Regions from separate parts of the Homo sapiens genome. Here region 2 is linked to region 1. The links are contacts of gene promoters, found by promoter capture Hi-C in human tissues and cell types (Jung and others, 2019). All regions are on one chromosome and are shown on one strand. Each heading gives the region's core, a stretch centred on a gene start or on the middle of the fragment in contact. The rest is flanking DNA. Distances are from core to core; before and after follow the strand shown.

The links. Contacts are between HindIII fragments. The study calls those that stand out against the background at their distance.
Region 2: a contact is called between the fragment with the promoter of TMEM204 here and the fragment with the promoter of RAB11FIP3 in region 1, in 1 of the 25 tissues and cell types used here (heart left ventricle).

Annotation. Positions count from the first base shown.
Region 1 is chr16:424,088-426,898 of GRCh38, forward strand. It overlaps RAB11FIP3 (RAB11 family interacting protein 3), which reads left to right and starts at 1,562. Exons shown (of 14, transcript NM_014700.4): 1 at 1,562-2,633. The coding sequence starts at 1,920. The HindIII fragment of the contact is 17,968 bases long and covers 1-2,811 here.
Region 2 is chr16:1,532,248-1,535,058 of GRCh38, forward strand. TMEM204 (transmembrane protein 204) reads left to right here and starts at 1,419. Exons shown (of 3, transcript NM_024600.6): 1 at 1,419-2,308. The coding sequence starts at 2,029. The region is part of intron 19 of IFT140 (intraflagellar transport 140); the gene reads right to left. RefSeq lists enhancers at 745-1,448, 1,449-2,152. The HindIII fragment of the contact is 11,677 bases long and covers 1-2,030 here.

The DNA of each region.
Region 1 (2,811 bases), core at 312-2,811:
TTTTCCAGCCCTAGCACAGACAGAGCGTGCGGGCCCCTGCTCTCAGAAAGCCAGCCTTCTGCCTCTGGCAGCGCCGGCACATAAAAGCAGAGGGAGCCTGCTGTCTCTGCCTCGCCCACACTAACACCCCTATTTAGAAAGGTTGACACATCACTATCACTGCTTCTGAAAATTTTATCCGGCCGAAGGCATCAGCCCAAATTTGAATTCTTGCCAAAGCTGCTGGTGATTTCGTTCTTTGAATGCAGTATCTTCCTCATGAACACGTACAGCTCTTACAAGAAAATGAGAATACGGTTTGGGGAGGAGGATCCCTCACATTCCTTTTCCTAATGCCAGCCTCGCGAAGTCTGGTCCCATGTACCCTGGGATTCTGCCACGGAAGATGACTCACTTAATTAACACGCTGCTCCTGACCGTACACTTGGAAGCAGAGGTTCCGTTCCTTTGGTTCTTGCCAAAGCTGCTTACGAAACCATATCTTGTGTTGGTGCCCATGGTGTGTAAAAATACAAGTTCATCATTTCCCTGATACAAATTATGACAGGCTAAATTTAGTGCCTCACCTGTCCTAACTAGCTTTCCCACCATCATGCCTGCCGCCGGGCTGTGGTCCTTTCTGAGGTCCCGTGTCCCTCTGAGGACAGGGACACCCAGACACAGAGGTCAGTTGTCAGACGCGGCCACGGTGCTCGGGAGGCTGGCTGCAGACGGGCGATTCACCCTGGGTGTCTTCTTGAGTCTTATTTTTTGTAGAGACGAGGTCTCGCTTTGGTGCTCAGGCTGGTCTCAATCTCCTGGGCGCAAGCGATCCTCCCGCTTGGGCGTGGGCCAGCGCGCCCGTCCCAACGCTGGGAGTCCCGGAGATCTTGGTCACAGGCTTAAGGGAAAGGCCTAGCGCGTGGCCGCGCGTGCCTCTGGTTTCAAGGGACATGGACTGCGTGTCTGGGGCCCCTCCGCACTCCGTGTCAGACCCTGCGTCCCCCGGGTCCGCGCGGGACCCGGGCAGGGCGTCGCCCTCTGCGGCGTCTGCGCCCCGCGAACCCTGGGGCACCTGCAACCCCTGGGCCGCGGAGCCAGGCGTGCGCCGCCTCCTGGTCTCATCAACGTGAGAACGCTTTACCCCCGAAGAGCTCAGCTCCTAGGGGGCTATGTCCCTTTGCGTCTCTCGCTCGCCAGGCGGTGCCGTTTACTCGACCGCACCATGCGTGGGTAGCGGTCGCGCCCGCTGGTAGCTGTGCGGCGGGAACACGTTCTAAGTAAGGCCTGACTCCGCGCGCCTCTTGCCAGGGACGTCACGTCACGCCTCCACTCGCAGCCTCGGAGCACCCCCGCGTCCCGCGCCCGAAGCTCGGGACCCCCGCTCTGGCGAAACGAGGAATATGACATACAGCAAAACACCCCTTCGCGGCCGCTGCACTGCCGCGACACACCCGGCGCCTGCCTCTACAGCAAGCCGGCGAGGGGCTGGGACCCCGCCGGGACGTGCTGACGTCAGGCCCGACGGGGGGCGGGGCCTGGGCGGCGGCGGCGTTAGTTCTCCGGGTACCTCAGGCGCCTCAGCCTCCTTAGTCTCCTCATCCTGCTTCACAGGCTCCGCGGCCTCCGGCCTCCTCGGCCCCCGTCCCCCGGCCTCCTCGGCCCCCGTCCCCCGCCATCCGCCGCCCGGATCCTCGCCGCCCTCCCTAGGCCGCCCCGCCGCCATGGGCCTGCGCCCGCCGCGCCGCCGGGCCGAGGGCAGCTGAGGCGCGGTGCGAAGATGGGCGAGGACAGAGCAGGGCCCGAGCGCCAGCCCCAGCAGCCCGGGCGCCCCGCGCGCGCCCGCCCGCGCCGCCGAGGGGATGCCCGCGCCCGCCGCCGCGCCCTGAGCGCCTTTGTCTGCCGCCCGCGCCCTTCCGCACCACTAGCCTCTCGGGAGCATGGCGTCGGCCCCGCCGGCCTCGCCCCCGGGCTCGGAGCCGCCGGGGCCCGACCCGGAGCCGGGCGGGCCGGACGGGCCGGGGGCGGCACAACTGGCTCCGGGCCCTGCGGAGCTACGCCTCGGAGCGCCCGTCGGCGGCCCCGACCCGCAGTCCCCGGGCCTGGATGAGCCTGCGCCCGGGGCCGCTGCAGATGGCGGGGCGCGTTGGAGCGCCGGGCCGGCCCCGGGGCTGGAGGGAGGCCCGCGAGACCCCGGGCCGTCCGCCCCGCCGCCGCGCTCCGGCCCGCGGGGGCAGCTTGCGAGCCCCGACGCCCCGGGCCCAGGGCCGCGCTCCGAAGCGCCGCTTCCAGAACTCGACCCGTTGTTCTCCTGGACTGAGGAGCCCGAGGAGTGTGGCCCCGCGAGCTGCCCGGAGAGCGCGCCTTTCCGCTTGCAGGGGTCCAGCAGCAGCCACCGAGCGCGGGGCGAGGTCGACGTCTTCTCTCCCTTCCCCGCGCCCACGGCGGGCGAGCTGGCGCTGGAGCAAGGTCCCGGGTCCCCGCCGCAGCCCTCGGACCTCAGCCAGACCCACCCCCTTCCGAGCGAGCCCGTGGGGAGTCAGGAGGACGGCCCCCGCCTCCGAGCCGTGTTCGATGCCCTGGACGGGGATGGGGACGGTTTCGTCCGCATCGAGGACTTCATCCAGTTTGCTACGGTCTACGGGGCAGAGCAGGTACGGAGCGGCCCGGGCCGGGGCGTGGGAACTGGGCAGGTGCGCGCTGGCCGGCGGGGTTGATGTGGGACCGGTCGACGCTGCCCCTGGAGTCGGGAAAGGCACTGTCAAGACCTGACGGTCCTGCTTTTTCTGCTTATTCACCACTTCGGCCCTGGATTTCTGGTTGAATTGCGCT
Region 2 (2,811 bases), core at 169-2,668, 1.1 Mb after region 1:
GCTTTTCCCTGGGCACAAGCCAAGGAAGAGGGGAAAGGAGAAACCTGACGGACACGTCTGCGACAAATCCCCGGGGAAAATCCCCCCCAGGCACGTCCCTCAGGAAGCCAGTGGAGAAACGCTTCTCAGGACCCAGCACGCACCACGGGCTGGTGAGGACGGAGCTGCTGCCTTTCTGGAACAGACACAGGGCGTGTGTGGGGAACCTTGCTTCACCTGTGGATATACAGAGCCACATGCCAACGTGTGAATGGAGACTGGTCCCAGGAAGTGGCAGCTCTCGGGACCGCCCTGAGCCAGGGCCCAAGCACGGGCAGTGCAAGGACAGGAAACGGTCAAAGCTCTGCTGTTACCACAGGCTGGGAACAGGACTCTCTGTCCCAGCACTGTCTTGGGCGTGTGCCCATGAACAGTTTGCACGGATGTGGGACACCTGCATTCACGAAGCTTTGGAGCCTGGGTAGGCTGGGAATCCCATGCTGGGTTTCGGGTCTCTGGAGATGGGACAGAGTAGGAGACCCTCTCGTGGTGTCTGCCCAGCTGGGCAGAATAATTCTGAGCAGAATAGACGAAGATGCTTCTGAGCTCCCTGGCAGCATAAGCTCTGCCCGAGAGCCTGACCACTCACAAGGTGACCTGCCTAGTCCTGTCCCCAGCTGTGGGGGGTGACCGTTCCCATCAATAGCAGAGGTGGCCCAGGCCCCACGTGACATTCGCTCTGTCCCAGGCCCCGCTGAGAGCCCCACCCAGCACATCCAGAATCTTACCCTTCTTGCCACCTAAGAATGACCTGGCCTCGAGGTCCTCCAAGTACAGGTCCCTGGCCCCGAGGTCCTCCAAGTACAGGTCCCTGGCCCCAAGGCCCTCCAAGTACAGGTCCCTGGCCCCGAGGTCCTCCAAGTACAGGTCCCTGGCCCTGCAGGTCTGGGTGAACTTGCTCCCTCCAGGCACACGGGTCTCTCCCCTTCCCAGCAATCCTGTGATATCTGCCCCCCTTTTGAGGGCAGCATTCCCGTGGCGGGGGCAGGCCTGGAACACACGGGCGGGGGGAGGCTTGTGGTTCCTATGGTCCTGGGGGTACCTATGGTCCTGGGGGCAACTGGATGGCTGGGGGGTGTGAAGTCCCCAGGGCAGGCAATAGTCGCTCAGTACCAGCCTCCAGGCCCCGGGGGCCACCAGGCTTAAAAGCAACAGGCGAGACGAGGGATCTGTCCCGCACCCGGCATCCCTGGCCTCTCCTCTGGGACAGGAAGATGGGGAGGGGCGGCAGGAGGTGGGCCTGGAGCAGGGCCTCAGAAGTCTCCTGGCCTTTCCCATCAGGAAGCACATCCTGTTGGTGTCTGGCTGCCGCGGCAGGGCCGCTATTTGTTGCGGTTGGCTACGCCTTCCAGCTCACCAAAAACAGTCTCAAAAACAACCATTTCCTCTCTGCTGAGAGCCAGGGAAGGCGAGCTCTGCGCACACGGGCGTCCCTGCAGCAGCCACTCTGCTTTCCAGGACCGGCCAACTGCCCTGGAGGCATCCACACAGGGGCCCAGGCAGCACAGAGGAGCTGTGAACCCGCTCCACACCGGCCACCCTGCCCGGAGCCTGGCACTCACAGCAGGCCGGTGCTAAGGAGTGTGGCGCGGGCTCGACTCCCACTGCTGCCGGCCTCCCGAGTGACTCTGTTTTCCACTGCTGCAGGCGAGAAGAGGCACGCGCGGCACAGGCCGGCCTCCGCTTCCCGGGAAGACGGCGCACTCCTGGCCCTGGGTTCTTGCTGCTGCCCACCCTCTGCTCCCTGGGATGGGCCCCGAGGCGAGCAGCTTCAGCACAGGCCTGGCCCTGCTCCAGGTGCAGGAAGGAGGATAAGGCCGGGCCGAGAGGCGGCACACCTGGACCATCCCATGGGCCTCCGCCCGCGCCGCCCCGAGGATGAGTGGTGATGTCCTCTAGCCACCCCTAGCAGCGTCGGCTCTCCCTGGACGTGCGGCCGCGGACTGGGACTTGGCTTTCTCCGGATAAGCGGCGGCACCGGCGTCAGCGATGACCGTGCAGAGACTCGTGGCCGCGGCCGTGCTGGTGGCCCTGGTCTCACTCATCCTCAACAACGTGGCGGCCTTCACCTCCAACTGGGTGTGCCAGACGCTGGAGGATGGGCGCAGGCGCAGCGTGGGGCTGTGGAGGTCCTGCTGGCTGGTGGACAGGACCCGGGGAGGGCCGAGCCCTGGGGCCAGAGCCGGCCAGGTGGACGCACATGACTGTGAGGCGCTGGGCTGGGGCTCCGAGGCAGCCGGCTTCCAGGAGTCCCGAGGCACCGTCAAACGTAAGTCCAATTGTTTTCCTGATGCCTTCAGCGTGGCCGAGGCTCGAGGGCACATGGGAGATGTTAGGCGCGGACCTGGTGAGCGGGTGGGGAGGCCTGGCCCCTGCTCTGCCCTGAGCGTGGCCTCTGGGCAGGCAGGAGGGGGCACTGTGTCTCCCAGGGAACCAGGCCCCAAGGCCCCCTCTCCCTGGTGAGTGGTGGCCCCACACACTCCTCCTGCTCAGCACAGAATCTGCCTCCAGCTCTTTTACACAGGAATTCATCTCAGGCATTTGGGGGGCCTCTCTGCCGTTACACATAGTTAAGAGATGGGTACATTAATCAAATCAAGGAAAGGCATTTTTCCTTGGTTGAAAATAATTATTACGGCTGGGCGCAGTGGTTCACGTCTGTAATCCTAGCGCTTTGGGAGGCTGAGGCGGGAGGACTGCTTGAGGCCAAGAGTTCAAGACGAACCTAGCCTACATAGCGAGAGACCCTGTCTCTGAACATAAAAAAAAAAT